6 separate regions of the Homo sapiens genome follow, and all the other regions are linked to region 2. Evidence: promoter capture Hi-C in 16 types of primary human blood cells and fetal thymus (Javierre and others, 2016). All regions are on one chromosome and are shown on one strand. The core of a region is centred on a gene start or on the middle of the fragment in contact, and the rest is flanking DNA. Distances in the headings are between cores, read along the strand shown.

What was found. Contacts are between HindIII fragments. The CHiCAGO score rates a contact against its expected background, and 5 or more counts as called.
Region 1: a contact is called between a fragment that was not itself captured here and the fragment with the promoter of COL4A4 in region 2, in 1 of 17 cell types (M0 macrophages). The highest score is 5.2, in M0 macrophages.
Region 3: a fragment that was not itself captured here is called in contact with the fragment with the promoter of COL4A4 in region 2 in 5 of 17 cell types (M2 macrophages, M1 macrophages, monocytes and 2 more); the score reaches 12.2 in M2 macrophages.
Region 4: a contact is called between a fragment that was not itself captured here and the fragment with the promoter of COL4A4 in region 2, in 1 of 17 cell types (fetal thymus). The highest score is 6.4, in fetal thymus.
Region 5: a contact is called between a fragment that was not itself captured here and the fragment with the promoter of COL4A4 in region 2, in 5 of 17 cell types (M0 macrophages, M1 macrophages, M2 macrophages and 2 more). The highest score is 13.2, in M0 macrophages.
Region 6: a contact is called between a fragment that was not itself captured here and the fragment with the promoter of COL4A4 in region 2, in 4 of 17 cell types (M0 macrophages, monocytes, M2 macrophages and 1 more). The highest score is 6.1, in M0 macrophages.

Annotation. Positions count from the first base shown.
Region 1 is chr2:225,758,518-225,761,217 of GRCh38, forward strand. All of the region lies in intron 2 of LOC105373914 (a long non-coding RNA gene), which reads right to left. Among named protein-coding and RNA genes, the nearest start is that of NYAP2, 360 kb to the left of the region's middle. The HindIII fragment of the contact is 1,089 bases long and covers 797-1,885 here.
Region 2 is chr2:227,162,803-227,165,502 of GRCh38, forward strand. It overlaps COL4A4 (collagen type IV alpha 4 chain), which reads right to left and starts at 1,403. Exons shown (of 48, transcript NM_000092.5): 1 at 1,205-1,403. COL4A3 (collagen type IV alpha 3 chain) reads left to right here and starts at 1,822. Exons shown (of 52, transcript NM_000091.5): 1 at 1,822-2,011. The coding sequence starts at 1,925. RefSeq lists enhancers at 730-1,631, 906-1,005 and silencers at 1,276-1,655, 1,876-2,055. The HindIII fragment of the contact is 7,891 bases long and covers 1-2,700 here.
Region 3 is chr2:225,706,414-225,709,113 of GRCh38, forward strand. The region is part of intron 5 of LOC105373914 (a long non-coding RNA gene); the gene reads right to left. Among named protein-coding and RNA genes, the nearest start is that of NYAP2, 310 kb to the left of the region's middle. The HindIII fragment of the contact is 2,983 bases long and covers 1-2,700 here.
Region 4 is chr2:226,161,367-226,164,066 of GRCh38, forward strand. The region is part of intron 2 of LOC646736 (a long non-coding RNA gene); the gene reads left to right. Among named protein-coding and RNA genes, the nearest start is that of MIR5702, 500 kb to the right of the region's middle. The HindIII fragment of the contact is 703 bases long and covers 946-1,648 here.
Region 5 is chr2:225,686,454-225,689,153 of GRCh38, forward strand. All of the region lies in intron 7 of NYAP2 (neuronal tyrosine-phosphorylated phosphoinositide-3-kinase adaptor 2), which reads left to right. The region is part of intron 5 of LOC105373914 (a long non-coding RNA gene); the gene reads right to left. Among named protein-coding and RNA genes, the nearest start is that of NYAP2, 290 kb to the left of the region's middle. The HindIII fragment of the contact is 1,284 bases long and covers 786-2,069 here.
Region 6 is chr2:225,734,765-225,737,464 of GRCh38, forward strand. It overlaps LOC105373914 (a long non-coding RNA gene), which reads right to left. Exons shown (of 7, transcript XR_007088110.1): 4 at 817-872. Among named protein-coding and RNA genes, the nearest start is that of NYAP2, 340 kb to the left of the region's middle. The HindIII fragment of the contact is 577 bases long and covers 1,038-1,614 here.

The DNA.
Region 1 (2,700 bases), core at 91-2,590, 1.4 Mb before region 2:
TACAAGATTTACAGAATCATAACATCTGGGTATGAAATCAGTTAATTTTAATTTAAATCAGCTTCTCAGGTGTTTGCTTAACTGCTAAAGTCTGAGATTGAATGAGCTAAGTTCTGAACATGCTAAATTCAATGCGCCTTCACTACTGAAGTTTGTCCTTCATTTGAAGCAGACTGTGATGAAGGTAAGTCAGATATAGACGTCCATCCTAGACTCAGTTCCACCACCAACTTCCCTGAAACTGCTTCTTCATCTTCAATTATTGTTCAACTAAAAGATTTGTATTTCACTCAGTTATTCATGCTTTCTCCTGGATAAACATTTTTTAGTACCTATTGTGTAGTAAACGCTGCTGCATGAGAACCATGAATAACATATGTTCAGGGAAAATCGTGGTTTTCAAATTGTGCTAGTTGTCAGAGGGAGTGTAGTATAATGTGGGTGCTGTATATGGAACCAGCAGAGTCTCAGAAAAGGCATCCTTCTCAGTAAGGCCATTTTTCACCTCTGAGTAAGCTGAGAATTAAATTTTACCTATGCTGAAAGCTCTGTCCAGGTAGATTTACAATAATTGCCCTTTGGTGCTTTGGGGGAACTCTCACTCTCAAAGAATCTTAATGGATACAAGAGGGTTTATTACTCAATTCTTGAGGCCACAGAAGTCAATTCCTTGAATTAACTTTTTGTCTAGTGCAGATAGTTAAAAAGTAAAATTCCCTTTTGGGGCTTAGAATGAGGAAACTTTAGACTGATTGTAAACCTTTAGGGGATCAAGAGGAGTCTATGTTATAATAGAAGCTTGTGGAATTCTGAAGATAAAGGAGAAGATTATGCTGATTTAGGATGTTTAAGAGACCCTTTAGGCATTTTCTTGTTTCAGTAGATGCGTGTTTAGTTTTTTCCTTTCTTTGCTGACTGCTCACAGTGACATTTTGGATGATCATGGGATGTGTATGTGGTAAAATAAAGGTGAGTACATTTCCAGCCTTGTAGAAAATAAAATAATAAAATGCCCATTATAGAAATTGTCATGCAGTAACCAAACCTGTGATATTCTGCTAGCTTTAGTTATGATTTATTATGTAGGAGGTTTCTATAAGCCTTAACTCTAGTTAAGCATTGCAATTAATGTTATGAGAAGGTTAAAACCACCTTATTGAGAATAGAAGATTAAAAGACGTTTTGCTCAAATAGGAAAGTTCATTTCTTAATTTGGGCCCACAAAGGCCTTCTCTTTTGCTTGTAATTTCCCTCAAAATTGGAGCTTCCTTTCAACAGAGGTTTTTGTTCAACCATAGAACATGAGGGTCTTTGATGGTTCCTGTTCAACTTTGTTTCTCCTAAGTTGCATGTCATTAATTTTTCTCCTTCTACCCCATGCTTTCTGCATGACCATGTTCATTGGTCTTACAGCCTCAACTCTCACCTCTGTGTTGATATGACATCCTGAGGCTACACATTCAGTCTTCTTAAGACAATGTCTTCCTCTTGGTTTTTCCACCCTGGGGCTCCTTGTCACCCTGTAGAGGTCATTTCAAATCTCTCTTTGGGGAAGTCTTCTTCAATCCTCACAGTCCAGCTAATGACTTATTTCTTTGTGCCTCCTCAGGCCTTTCCATGAAGCTCCTCGACACACAATTCAGGGCAAATCTCTCTCTCTTCCCCTAGATTGTGAGGACAGCAATCATCTGTTATTTATCTTCTCCTGCATAGTAGGCAGCAATGAATGATCATTCTTAAAGAATTGGCTGAAGAGTTCCAGTTTGGATGAAATGGTGGCACTGGCAAAGGCAAAACTCTAATTCTACACAAAACACATAAAAATGCTGGAGAAACTGATAAAAAATAGCTTTGGAGATTCCAAATAAGTACAAATGAAGAAGAAAGCTTAATTTTATGAGTTGGGCTGAAGTGGCTTATCAAGGGATTATGCCATGAGAAGCCCTTATTCTAGTACTTAAAATTTTAACCCCTGTGAAGGGAGAAGAGAAATAAGTTTGAGCTGGAGAAAAGGCAAGGAAACAGAACTGAGACCTCTTCCCAAAGTGGGGATCTTGGAAAGATTGCCTTTACTGAGCAGGCAAGCCTGCACCATGAGTTGTCATGGAGACTAACTTTACATTAGGTGCCCATGTAATTGCCCAACAGGTTCTTCCTGCCCACTGCACAGACCATGGTATTAAAATAAAGAAAGAATTTAATTGAGGCTAGGTTAGCTAGGCCATGAAGGAGACGGAGATTTTACTCACATCAATTTCCCGTAAGGCTCGCAGGTTAGGGGTTTTCAAGGATAGTTTTGTAGGCAGGGGACTAGGAAATGGGAAATGTTGATTGGTTGGGGATGAAATCATAGGGGTATGGTAAACAGTTCTTAAAATTCTTTCAGAATTTCTGTTAGTAACTGATAGGTTAGAAAATAATAAATATAAAGAAAATTTGAACAAAAAACATAATAATCTTTACCTACTAGAGACATATACACACACATAGATGAGCATGTACCTATAGAATATATTTACATATATGTAGGTACATATATGATACACATATATATCATATATACAACATAAATATGATACATATATATGTGTGTATACATAGTGAGCTGCACTAGAAAATTAGAAAATACATATTCTCAAAGAGCATGGCACATTTATAAAAATCATCTTCTATACTTCAAATCTTGGAAGTCTTAAATAT
Region 2 (2,700 bases), core at 153-2,652:
CATTGTTTTATCCTCCCAAAGATTCTAATGCACAACGATAGTTGAGAATCACTGGCATAAAAGACAGAAAGAAGACTGTAAGATTCATGCTATAGTCAAAATAAAAAGAATGGGAGGAGTGTCTTCATTCACTGTTAGGGTTTTGCCTACCTGCATGGCTACAAAGTTCTAAGATACCAATAGATCCCAAATTTAACTGCAAGCAAGTGGTTCCCTAAAATCAGTGACCAACTGCATGATCATACTTGGTGTCTGAAGCCAATTGCAGCAAATATCAGCAACACTGTTCCAAAGCAAAGATTCTTAACCTGAGGATGGAATTCAGGTGATCTGTATAGGAAACTCACATAGGAAAATAAGTTGCATCTTTACTTTTAGTAACATGTCACAGAAGTTCAACATGTCCTTCCCTTATGAGCACAGGCAACAGAGCACAGTAGTATTGGCAGTTCTTGATAATTTGCACCCACCGGTATTTTCATGTCACATTTCAGTTTGGGCTATTATCTCAAAATACCATTTGCAGACATCACTACTTTGACATTACTGTTGCTTAATCGGCCTGCTGTTAAATCAAGCTATTTAATGCAATAATGATGATGCACCTGTGTTAGTTACTATATCACGACTTGAGGACTTCCATAATTGCATTCCAATAAAACTGATTCTGATTTAATTGTATTTTATGCATTTCACAACATTCTTCTGAGAAACAGTCTAATTGCTTTACCAGAGCCAGTGTGGTCCGTAGCACAGGAAACGGCGAGAGCCGGCTGGAGGACCGTGCCCTGGCACATTTGCATCGCAGGCCACCCCCAGGAAGAGCGCACCCTGACCAGAGCTGAGTCTTGTTTTGCCCTGCATTTCCGCAGATAAGATTTGGCCTGAAAAGCAGTTCAACTCAGCGGAGAATAAGATGGGCTTTCTCTTTCTCCTCAGCTGCCTCTTTCTCTTGGCATTTTGGAGTGCCCCGACTGCCAGGCCGGTAACTCGAGCCTCCAAATTAATCAAAACACACAGCACCCAGTTAAAGCCCAGGCAGACAAGCCCAGGAGCCAGACGCGCTCTCCTCTGGTGACCCCCGGGCCACAACTCCCCAGCTGGGCCCGCCACCACCCCTTGAATGCCACGCTCCCTCCACTGCCCCTCCCAGGCAGGTGCCGGGGCCCCGGGACAGCGGTTGCCCCACCTATGGGCGCCTTACCTGTGGGGACGCCCGCAGCGCCAGGAGCTGCCGCCTTGCCACCCCACGGGACGCGCACCTCCAGCCCCAATCCACCCGCGCCCCGCTGCCTCTTCGCGGCGCTCTCGCAGCCAAGCCCGGCGGCCGCAAGTTGGAGGCGGGCTGGAGGCGGGGAACGCGGACCGCCGCGGGCGCGGGGAACAAGCGGGGCCTCCCGAGTGCAGACGCCCGGCGCGCCTCCCGCTTAATCTGGGCAGGGCCGCTGGCCACTCCCTCCACCCTGCGCAGCCACCTCCCCACCGCGCAGCCACCTCCCCACCGCACACCCCCAAACGCCCCACCTCCGACCGCACCCCACTTCCCCGCCTGGGCCCCCGGACCTTGGGAGCATCACCTCCTTAACCCCTTACCCTGGATCCGCGCCCACCTGCCCCTCAGGCGCCCAGCCCTTTCTCGCCTCCTGGGCACGATGCCCGGGTAGAAGGGACACTGCCTGGTAAGTTGGGAGGGAGGGGGTATGAGGGCGGGACCTGAGCCACGTCTTCCCTCCCTTGAAGCCACAACCAAAAAGCCTGGGTGGGGAGGGACGAACCGCGCGACCGAGCCCTACAAAACCCGCCCCGGCCGAGTGGCGAGGCGAGCTTTCCAGCCGGGCTCCCAGAGCCGCGCTGCGCAGGAGACGCGGTGGCCTGAGAGCCTGAGGGTCCCCGGACTCGCCCAGGCTCTGAGCGCGCGCCCACCATGAGCGCCCGGACCGCCCCCAGGCCGCAGGTGCTCCTGCTGCCGCTCCTGCTGGTGCTCCTGGCGGCGGCGCCCGCAGCCAGCAAGGTGAGTGGGGGCTGCGCGACCCCCACCCCCGCACTTCCATCCCTCCTCCACGCGTCCGGGGGACGCGCTGGCCCCACCCGCAGCGGCGCGGTAGTGGAGCGGCTGCCGGGCTAGTGGCGAGGCTGAGGGCTTCACGCAGGTCCCGGGACAGGCAGCGAGCGGAAGGGAGCAAGCGGGGATGCCCCGGAACAGGTGGAATGCGCGGGGCTGGGGGAAGAGGCGAGGAGGGGGCTTGTCCAGTGCCTAGGAGTCAGGGATGGCGGGGACAGGCCTCCAGAGGTCAGTAAATTAAAAAATAGACACATAGATAATCGCCAGGGATGATACGTGAGAACACCGGATGTGGAGATGCACGGTGTCACGCTGGTGAATCAAATCAAGCAGCTTGGCCCAGCGCACAGAGGGCTGGCAGGAGACACCTGCAGGGAGTCCCAGCCGCCACTTCCTAGCTGGGACGTCACACTAAACCCTGACCTCTCTGGGGCTCAGTTTCTTCCTTGCAAAACTTGCCCTCCAGTTTTCCTTTGCTATTGTTGGGAAAAGCAAATGCTATCACTGAAAAATTAAGAGCACCTTAGAAATCGAACTCAGGTTAGAATCATTTAAGCAATCTGACACTTTGATTTGATTTTTGACTTGGAATTTGAGTGAAACTGGATTTATTTAAATCCATCCCATATTTCTTATTC
Region 3 (2,700 bases), core at 107-2,606, 1.5 Mb before region 2:
TTATTTAGGAAGTTTTATATCTATATATTTATTTAAACTCCGCTTTTTATCCAAATAAAGCAATTGTAATTAATGTGCAAATATAGCAAGGTGACATACATTAGAAATGTGTGAGAATTTTAACGAGAATGAAACACAAGTTAGAGCATGAGATAAAACCAATCAGGAATAATTTTAGTTCACAAAATGCATACAATGATACCCTAAGTGTCACTACTTATGGGTTTATAATTCATTTTAATAGTAAGACTAATAATAACAATAGTAAGACCGCTACAATTTATTTCTTACTTTATGCAAAACACTGAACTAAGTTTTTAAGACATCTTTTCAAATTCTTACCTCAACCCTATGAATATGTTCATTTTCTGGGTAAAGATGCTGAGGTTTAGAAAACTTTCCCAAACTAATACACAATAGTAATTGATTGTGGAAATTCAAACCAGGCTTATCTGAATCAAAAACCAAACCAATGTAACATAGACTCTCATTTAAATTAATTTGTATTAGTTTGCTATTCATCATATACAGATACTCAAAGACATTTTAATCACTATGCAGTTCCATGTAGCCTGAATGGAAGTGACCCATCTAACTTAGGTATATATACTCGTCACTGAAAAAGCAGTATTTTTCTCTACAATACAACAAACTTCATAGGTACTACAGATCAGTGTAGAGGACTTTATGCTTGCTAAAATCTTAGTCCTTAATAATTTCTTATCGATCTTCTAGCTGGTTTCAATGAAGAACAAATCAGTTTGCTAGGGTGAAATAGTAAGCTGGCTTTTAAATTGATTCTGCTTGTTGATTTTCCTTAGGGTAACTATTGCTGCCTTCTGGAGGTATTTGGTTTTAAAGAATGCATTAATCTAAATTTTTTTGTCTTTCTTTGTGAATATACCATATGATATCACGTTTATTAAGGAAAGGGAAAAAAGAAAGAGAGAGACTTGGTAGTAAGTTAAAATGTCCCATCCCGCTGGGCACTTGTGCCTCAATGCTCTAGCAATATTTTCTCACAAGGGTCCTTGAAAGGTGTTACTCATAACACTTCAATATAAAAAAATCCACACTTTTTAATTTTAATAGTTAAGAATTTTTTACATAAATATAAAGTTAACATATTAAACTACTTTATTTCATTCACTGAATAAATATTTCTTGAATACTTGTTGTAATACCAGCCATGGTGATCAGTAATCAGGCTATGGTCATGAATAAAAGACGGCAACCTCACTTATCTTTGAGCTTATATAATGGACATAATTATTTATATCAATGTTGAAGTTGGTAGCATCAACTTAACCCAACCTTCACCTTAAGGACTATAAGGTATGATGTTCAAGTGCTACTCAGATGTGGCAAAACTCGTAAGTATTCAAACGGCTGCAAGGAGCCTGCTCTGAGACTAGAAGATTATACAGTGCTAGTAGAGGCATTATTTTGCCCATTCTCCTCATTCCCTTGGGGTTTGACACCTGTTTGTCAGAGGTTACACACACAGACTTACTGCTTCCTTGGTAAACATATGCTTTTCCTTTGCAATAGGAAGACTATGAAGAAAATGACACAGAGGCCTGAAACCACTTTAGAGATCATTAGATAGCCACGAATATAATTCTCTCAAAATGGTCTGCTTGCCTGAGGATCCTCTAGACTTTTTCTGAAACTAGAATTCACATGTTTGTTCTACTCTAAAATTTTCTTGACTTCTCATAGCCTTCAAACGCCAATTACATTGTCCAAGTTCCAAACCATCCCGCTGTTGTTTACTGAAACCTATCAACCCAGTATCTTACATATAAGTCCCTAGAAACCCCTGCCTCCTCCCAGACTCCAGGATCACTCTTCAAAGGTCTCAAATTCAAATGATTGTATGCAAGAGAGGCAAGTTTCTGTCATCAAATATTGCAACAGTCATAAGCAAGGTAGAGATTGAAAAACTGGAAGATGAGGAGAGGGTAGCCTGCAATACAAACTTCAACATGAGGGTATGAAGTTTGCCGGGGAAAGACACAAGGGTAGGGATGTTATGAAGCTAAAAAATAAGATTAAGATTATCTAGTTCTGGAAAACGTAATTCATATCAAATATTGTTGGGTGGAATCTTTGAAAGAAGTTTACATCATTTTTATTTGAATGTGTAGACTCTTTTCAAATAAATATATGGACTTTGTAAAATACACCACTGAAGAACTTCATCAGAGTGGTTTAGAAAGGAAAGTAAGACAAGTCAAGACATAAAAATGAAGAAAAATTAGTACAAGGAAATAGTAAGGCCAAAAATTGATTGGCCACCTTATTTTCTGATGACTTCTCATAGATTTTTCTTTCTGCTTTATCAATGCATCATTCACTAGATCTAAGAAGGTGAGATGGGATACAAACAATGAATAGTCAACTATGCAAATACTTGAGGGAGTATTTTAGATATCTGGGGAATTGTAAAGTTTCTGAGATAAAGTACACTTGATGTGTTGGGGAACCATACAGGTCATCACAAAGATGAGGTCAGGGAGAGAGGCAGGGGCCAGATTATGTAGGCACTGTGGAGTTTATATACAGGCACTGTGGAAAACATTTTACTTATCTATAAAAACCAAAGCCATAGGTGAAGTTTAAGAGTTTATGGATCTACTAAAGAGGATATTCATTACCCCTCCCTTAACTGATCAACACATTTATTAATAAGTGTGG
Region 4 (2,700 bases), core at 47-2,546, 1.0 Mb before region 2:
CACTTCATGAAAGGCATGAAACATGAAATTAAGCTCTCAGTGTCCATAAATAAAGTGTTTTTAGAACACAGTCATGGTCAATCATTTGCATATTGCCTATTGCTGCATTCACAAAACAGTGGCGGAGTTGAATAGTTACAACAAAGACTGTATGACCTGCAAAGCCTAACATGTTTACTAGCTGATCCTTTACAAAGAAAGTTAAGATTATGTCTGTTTTCTGAAACAGTTCCACTGATAACAGCACATATATTTATGGACCATTAAGTTGTGATTAAATATGATTGCTATAAATCAAGCCTTGAAATACCATCTGTCTATTCTTCTAAGAATGATGACTTCAACAGCTCTTTGGCACAATAGACAGTGATTTATTTTAACTCTTTTTTGAGTTTTTTGAGATGGGGTCTCACTCAGTTGCCCAGCACGGAGTGCAGTGGCATGATCTTGGCTCACTGCAACATCCACCTCCCAGGTTCAAGCAATTCTCATGCCTCAGCCTCCCCCGTAGCTAGGATTACATGTGTATGTCATCACATCTGGCTAATTTTTGTATTTTTAGTAGAGACAGGGTTTCACCATGTTGGCCAGCCTGGTCTTGAACTCCTGACCTCAAGTGATCCACGCACCTCAGCCTCCCAAAGTGCTGGGATTACAGGCATGAGCCACTGTGCCGGGCCTTCTAATTCTTTTATTCAGTTTCCCTTTGACCAGCCAAATACTTATTTTCAAAACAGGAAAAACTATGAAATATTCCCTTGGGTATGTACTGACTTACCTGTTGATATGTATTTTGCTGAGAATAGATACCAGAATTTAATATATACCAAAACTGGCACTCCAAAGAAGTGTTTATTTATTTTACTTAATTTCTCCCTTGAAACACACCTAATAAAAATGTTCCTGATAAATTTCCCAAATACATACTGTTAGAATGTCAATAAAAGCTTCAGTACAGTAGTATAGTTGTTTCTTCAAAATGAGAAATATACAGTATTTATTCAGCTATTTATTCAATCACTTGCAAGAAAATAATCTCAAACTGAAAGAAAAAGATAATTTATTGGCACATATGATTGAGAAATCCCTGTTTTAAAATGATGCCAATTACAACGAATTTTCTCTCCTTCTTTTGGTTTAGCTTGTCTCTACCCATCTCTCTGTGGTGTTGTCTACCTCTTTAGGCTACATGTGATGGGAAGAAGCTAGCAGTAGCTTTCTATATTCATTCTCTGAAATTTAAGTCCAACAGAATAAGAGAGCATCCATTCCCAGTACATACAGCACAGAAACACAGATTCACTATGATTAGAACCACGTGGGAGACATGAGACTACAAGGGGGATTGGGAATTCTCATTGGCCAAGCCTGGGTGCTATGCCCCACCCTGGCCATCACTGCCATCCCAGCCAATAACTGGCTAAAAAAAATGAGAAGAATGGGTTCCCAAAGGAAAGTTGAGGGTTTTTGTTGTTGTTGTTGTTGTTTGTTTGTTTGTTTGTTTGTTTTTGTCAGAATAAGGAAGAAGAAATGTAAGACCAGGAAATTTACTATTTGAATTAAATTATTCTTAACCACATTTAGAACTTTCACCAAATACTGTTCATGATTTTTCTACTGCTAATTCATTTTTATTTTTCACAAAGAAAGCTTTAAAATATTATACATTAGGTGAGGCTGAGAGAAGAGAAACTAAAAGAAGTTTGGTGGAAGCTTTTGACCATGTTTCATGTATGCCTATCCCTTAACCACCTTCAACATGAGGCCAGTCCATGGCAAACAATTGTTAATCATCTGTGTACTGCATTTTGCCACCAGTCACCCTCCAACATGCCTCTGCAACACAACACCAGGCCATCAGAATGCTGCGTGATGGGCTCTCAAAGGGGAATGGTGGCCACAGGATTGGCCTTCCATAAGCTGATCCCAGAAAAGGAGTTTAATGAGCTCTAAGATCAACCTAGGCCCAGTTGATTGACTTATGGTAAAATTCAGTTTGCATCTGCTCTTTGGGGTCTCTTTAATTGTCATGATCCTTTTTTCCCTAGAGTTCCCTTTGTCTAAGCAAAACAACAACACAAGAGAACCTTTTCTTTATTTCGGACTTAAGTAACATTCATGCTCTGGTCCTCTGTCCCAACTTGGTGTTCTGTATCTTTCCTATCATTCCAGCTATGGACATCTATTTTTTTTTAATAATTTCTACTTTTATTTTAGATTCAAGTGGTACATGTGCAGGTTTGTTATCTGGATATATTACATAATGCTGAGGTTTGGGGCACAATTAATCCCATTACCCATGTACTGAGCATAGCACCCAATGGTTAGTTTTTCAACCTTTGTCCCCCTCCCAATCTCTCCTCTCTAGTAGTCCCCAGTTTCTTTTGTTGCCATCTTTAGGACATCATTTAAAAAAAAAAAAAAAAGCTTTGAGAATACAATTTGTATATTTGGGTCTGAAATATCATTTTAGTAGAAAAAATATGAAATAAGTTACTATAAGTATGTCCATATTTTTAAAAGGCTAAAAATACCTTGACTCACAGATTGGGCCAACTATCTCTTTTTAAAAATAATAATAGGCCAAGAAACAGCATATTATTATTTTTATCAAAGACCTTAGCATTTTATTTAAGATAAAAAAGAATATATTTTTTTAACACTTTGTGGTGTAAAAGAATTGATTGGCCAGGCGTGGTG
Region 5 (2,700 bases), core at 178-2,677, 1.5 Mb before region 2:
CAGCTAACACTTTCATGTAACTCAAGAGACACTAACATACTTGTGAATATACTTACAGAAGCATAAATATGTATGTAAGGATTACTGTACTATATTTGTCTGCTACCATGAAACTGAGGAAAACAGGGTTTACTGAAATGATCTGCAGTGTGGCTGATGAAATAAAATTTTAAAAATTTACCTTTAGAGGGACTTCTTTTGATGCTGTACCCATAGTGGGCAATGTATTTTCAGTACACAAGTATATGGAGGTTCTACCAGTGAGTAAGCTATTTGGAGGTGAGATAAGATGGAGCAGACATAGTGATTACACAGTGCCTTGCCCACTGTGTGGAAACACTGTGGTTATTGTGCCTAGGATCTTGATAATAATGAAGACGAAGACAATGGTAGTGATGACAACAATGACAAATAGAAAGGTCAAATTTTCATTTATCCATCAAAGTTTTGATTAACAGTTTATAAGTCCTCTTATCTTCCAGCAGCAAACTTAACAGCCTTTGTTTGATCAAGTGCACTTCCCATGTCATGGGCTATATGAAGGGAAGTAATTGTGCTTGTGTGTATGTGTTTCTAATAAGAACTACTTTACTCATAATTAGCTGTGAAGCAATCTGCTATAATACTGAGTGCAGTTTTTATTTAGCATGTGATATATTTAGTCTTGAATTGCAATTCTAATTCTGTCTTCTATTAGGCATGTGATGCTATACGTGTAACTTAATCTCTTCAAGCTTCATTTTATTATCTGAAATATATCAATAGGGCATGCTTAAGAGTTATTAAGCTTTAAGGGAATTGAGATATGTCCAGGGCTCATAGAGTGCCTGGAACATGGTTATGTGCAATAAATCATGGTTGTTGGTATTATTACATTGTTGATACTGCTATGTTTATTTTATAGATTGTGACAATCCTTCTCTCCAAAGTCACAAGATAGAAGGTGCATATAACTTGCCAATTTATCTTAGAACTTTTATGATGTCACTGAAGAATGTTTTGGGATAATTCCTTTAGATCAATCAAAAATCTCAATATATGGCACCTTATTAACTTTAGGCCACCACTTTTTCTTGAATGACATTATTGACACATATATTCTTTAAGACACTTTTGCAATTTTATTTCTTAAGTAATATGTTAACTAAGAGACCTTAAAATGATTCAGTGATTTAATCATAAATATATAATATATGCACATATGTGTAAATATGCATAGAGATACATGGATACATTTATAAATATATGCAAAATGGATAGACTGTACTTGAAATAATTTGCTAAGACAAAAATCTGTCTGACTTCTCTCAAAATCTCAATTGATTCTTTACTTGCATGTTGTACCCAGTACGTATGGACAGAGAACGGGAAAGGTCAGATCTTGAGAGAACGTTTCTGCGCCCTCTTGAGTTAGTATAACCTCTTATCATTAACTAGAATTTGGGTATCTCTCAAAATGTGGTGCTCAGCCTATCATCCATCAAAATCACTAGGAAGCCTAATAAAACTATAACTGCTTAAGACCCACCTTATCTAGAATTAAAGTCAGATTCTCTGACATTGGTGCCTAAGAATTTGCATTTTAATAAACTCCCAAGGGAGTTGCATACTTCCTTGGTTGAATGCATACTAAGGCTTAGGGAGCATTGATTTGTGTCTCAACTTCAGCCAAAGGGCCAAGGATTGATGTCCAGAGTTTGAAAAAGAGACGTTCTCAGTCATTGAACACCCAGGTGTGACTCACATGGCATTGAGGACTGAGTTTCAGGTTAGATGCCTCCTGGGGTTTATAAAGCCCAGGCAATATTTTTGTTAACTTTGTACAATTTGAGGTATTGTTGGATTCAGTTGAGCCAAAGTGGAATGAACTCATTCATGAAATCAAGGATTTCAAAAGCACCTTTCCTGAAAATACTCAGAAAATGTTACACTTAGTGTGATCCATTTGTTTATTCATTCATTTTTTATGAACATTTATTGCATAATTTTACTGTGTTAAAAGCTAAGAATATGAAGATTAATAATGGAGTCCCTGTCTTTAAAGAGTTCATTGTCTACTGGGGTAGAAAAGCTTATATTTTTAGAAGTGTCCACTTTTCAGTAGATACCAAATTAGGACATTTAATCTTCTCAAGAAACCTATTTTATTATTTTCATTTTACAGGTTAAAAAAAGGAAAGGTTAGGTAACTTGTTCTGATCTCACATATAATAAGTGATAAAAACCACATCATCTTATCCATTTTATTCATCTTATACTGTCTCCTCAGAAAATAGAAAATCAACTTTTTTTTGTCTGTCTATTTTTGAGATGGAGTCTTGCTCTGACACCCAGGGTGGAGTGCAGTGGCACGATCTTGGCTCATTGCAACCTCTGCCTCCTGGGCTTAAGCGATTCTCCTGCCTCAGCCTCCCGAGTAGCCGGGATTACAGGTGTACACCACCGTGCCTGGCTAATTTTTGTATTTTTAGCAGAGATGGGGTTTTGCCAAGTTGGCCAGGCTGGTCTGGAACTCCTGACCTCAAGTGATCTGCTGCCTCAGCCTCCCAAAGTGCTGGGATTACAGGTGTGAGCCACTGCGCCCAGCTTGAAAATTGAACATCAAACACACACATACATATTTTAAAAGGGATGTGCATTCTATTAGGAGCTTGAAATAAGCTATTAATTGTCACTGTTCAGCATGGTAGTTGAAACCAG
Region 6 (2,700 bases), core at 76-2,575, 1.4 Mb before region 2:
GCAACAATTTTCACCACCTCCAACTTTTATTGAGAAGTTTCGCCTGCACTAGCTGCATGAAGAAGATGCCAGCTGGAGCCCAACAGCAGGGAAGACTCAACCAGCAGTGGTGGAGTGGGCAGCAGGTACTCCCTGAGGGTGGAAGGTGGGCCGGATGGAGGCTGGGTACTGCCTCACATGTGAAGGGTCACCCATGTGGCAGATCCAGGCCAGTTAGCCCAATGGTTCTCCACAGGGTATGATTTTGTCCCCCAGGGGACCTCTGGCAATGTCTTGAGACATTTTGGTTGTCTTAATGGAGGACAGGACAACTGGCATCTGGAGGAAGAGGCCAGAGATGTTACTAAACATTCTATAACACACAAGTCAGGCTCCACAACAGAGTTATCCACCTCCAATGTCAATAGCGCTGAGGTTAAGAAACCCTAGGTTAGACATACACATTTTCAATTATAGCAGGATGCAATTTAAATTCCTGGCATTGAACATAGAACTTTAGAAAATGTCCCTTCTCCATGTTCTAAAAGATTCTACATCCTGTGGTTTGAGGAACTCCCCCATCTTTTTTTTTTCCCACTCAGCCCTCCCTTTCTAAACTTCACCGCCCCACTCCACACCTCAAAGAGTGAAGGGGCTAGCTGACATATAACTAAAGCTCTGAAGTGGAAAGAAGGCAATATTTCAGATTGCAAAAAAGGACTTGAGATTAATATTATTAATGAACAATAGTTAAATAGTCTAGCACTTTTGTCAGAGACATATTGTGTGGCTTTGATCTTTTTATATACTTCATGAGTTCTTGATCCAAGTTCTCACCTTGCTTTCCATACATGGGTCTTTATGCAGGATTCATTCCCAGGGGAAGTAGATCTCTGGAGGGCAGAATTCACAGGTCAGGGAGTAGTGATCGTCATGAGCTAAACAGTAAAAGTTCCCTTCGTCTTTCCTCCTTTGATGTACACAGCATTTTTGTCACCCTAGTTCCCTGTCAATTTTGTTATTTTGTCATTTTATTCTTTGAAAATTTTAAAGGTTAAAGCTTATGTTAAAGAACATGAAGTGCATGTTATGATTTTAAATTTAAGACTTTAGGAAAATTAGGTCATCCTGAGAGGTCTGCAAAAGAGCAAATCGTTCAGACGTTTGCATCTGCTCATTTTGAAATATACACACACACAATCTGATACCTTCTCCTTGACAAGTGATGTTCCAAATCAGCAGAAATTCTGCCAAGTAATTCATGGGACAGAGCAGAAGGAGAATATGAGTCATTAAAATATAGGCATAAACTTTAGTCAGACAAACTGATGGGATTGCTGCCAAAGAAAAAAATCTTGCAGTTGGGCCACCCTCGTAGATTTCTCCAACAAACTCAGACAGATAGTGCTGTGTTTAGTGACTAGATTCTATGGCTCTGAATTATAGCACCTATCATTTCATTGTTTCAGAGGAGAACTATTTGAGTGAAAATATTATTTCAATGCAAATAATAGAAGGATAAAGAAAGTGGCACTCATTTCTCTGAAAGTTTTTACCTTGTGTACTGGAAATAAGAAAAGGAGGCATTGAATCTACTTGGGAATCTGAGTCGAGATTCTTAAATCAGGATTTTTAAGCTTTATCATCCATAAAAACCACCTAGACCACATATTAAAGGTGCATATTCCTCCTATGGATTCTGATACAACAGGCATTTTTCACAGGCTCTAAAGGGGTTAATGGTATGTGGATTCCACTTTATAAAAAGGCTGTCAAGTAGGCCAAGGCTGTTGGGCATTGGGAAAATAAGTGGGCATATGATAAAGGCTCAATAAATATTTGTTGAATGAATTCTCTCTAGGTCTTAGAAACATATTATTTTTATTTTTCTTTCATGTGAGCAGATTGCCAACAGGCTTATTTGGGTTTATATTGTTTCAGAGAAACTCAAATTTTCCCCATTTATTTATTGTCTGCTTGTGTTATATGAATTTTAGTTGCTGCTGGCAGAAAACTCAAGTTACATTAACTCTCCCCTTTCTAGTAATTTGGTGATCTGGGGCACTTCTTTTGATCTCCTTTGGCCTTTAAAATTTTAACCTCCTTTGACCTTTAAAGTTTTAAAATTTCTAATCTGGGAAGGTTAATAATTACTTTTCAAAATATCATATAGCACTGAAAAGAAAAAAAAGTACATGAAAAAATGCAGTATGAAGTTCTATACCAATGTTATTTGTTTTGTGTTTTTTAGAAATAAATTGTAAACTGGAACTCAGAATTAAATAATAATAGCAGTGGGGATGAAGTCCTTCTAATCCTTTACTCTAGGAAAATGTTTTCCTTAATGACTGGGAGACAGCTGGGTTCAAAGTGAATGCAAGTTAAATGTCAGTCAATGAGTTGAAGTTGTTCCTTTCCCACCTCATTTTGCTTTGTTGTTTCAAGAATCAGCATTACTGAGGCATTGGTTACTTTCATGTTAGCTCAACTCTAAAGATAGAGGTTGTGCAGGCTCTACTGAGGTCAGTTAACCTCTAACAAGAGAATGGACGGTTTGTTGGATGGAAAAGGCTTGTTAAGACAGTCAGACCACTTCTGAGCCTCCCTATCCCAAAAAGCCCCTATTACAATGCATGCATGTTCACTCACACACACAGGTACACACACACACACACACACACACTCCTCTGTAGCAACATTCCTTTAAATTCTTACCTTATA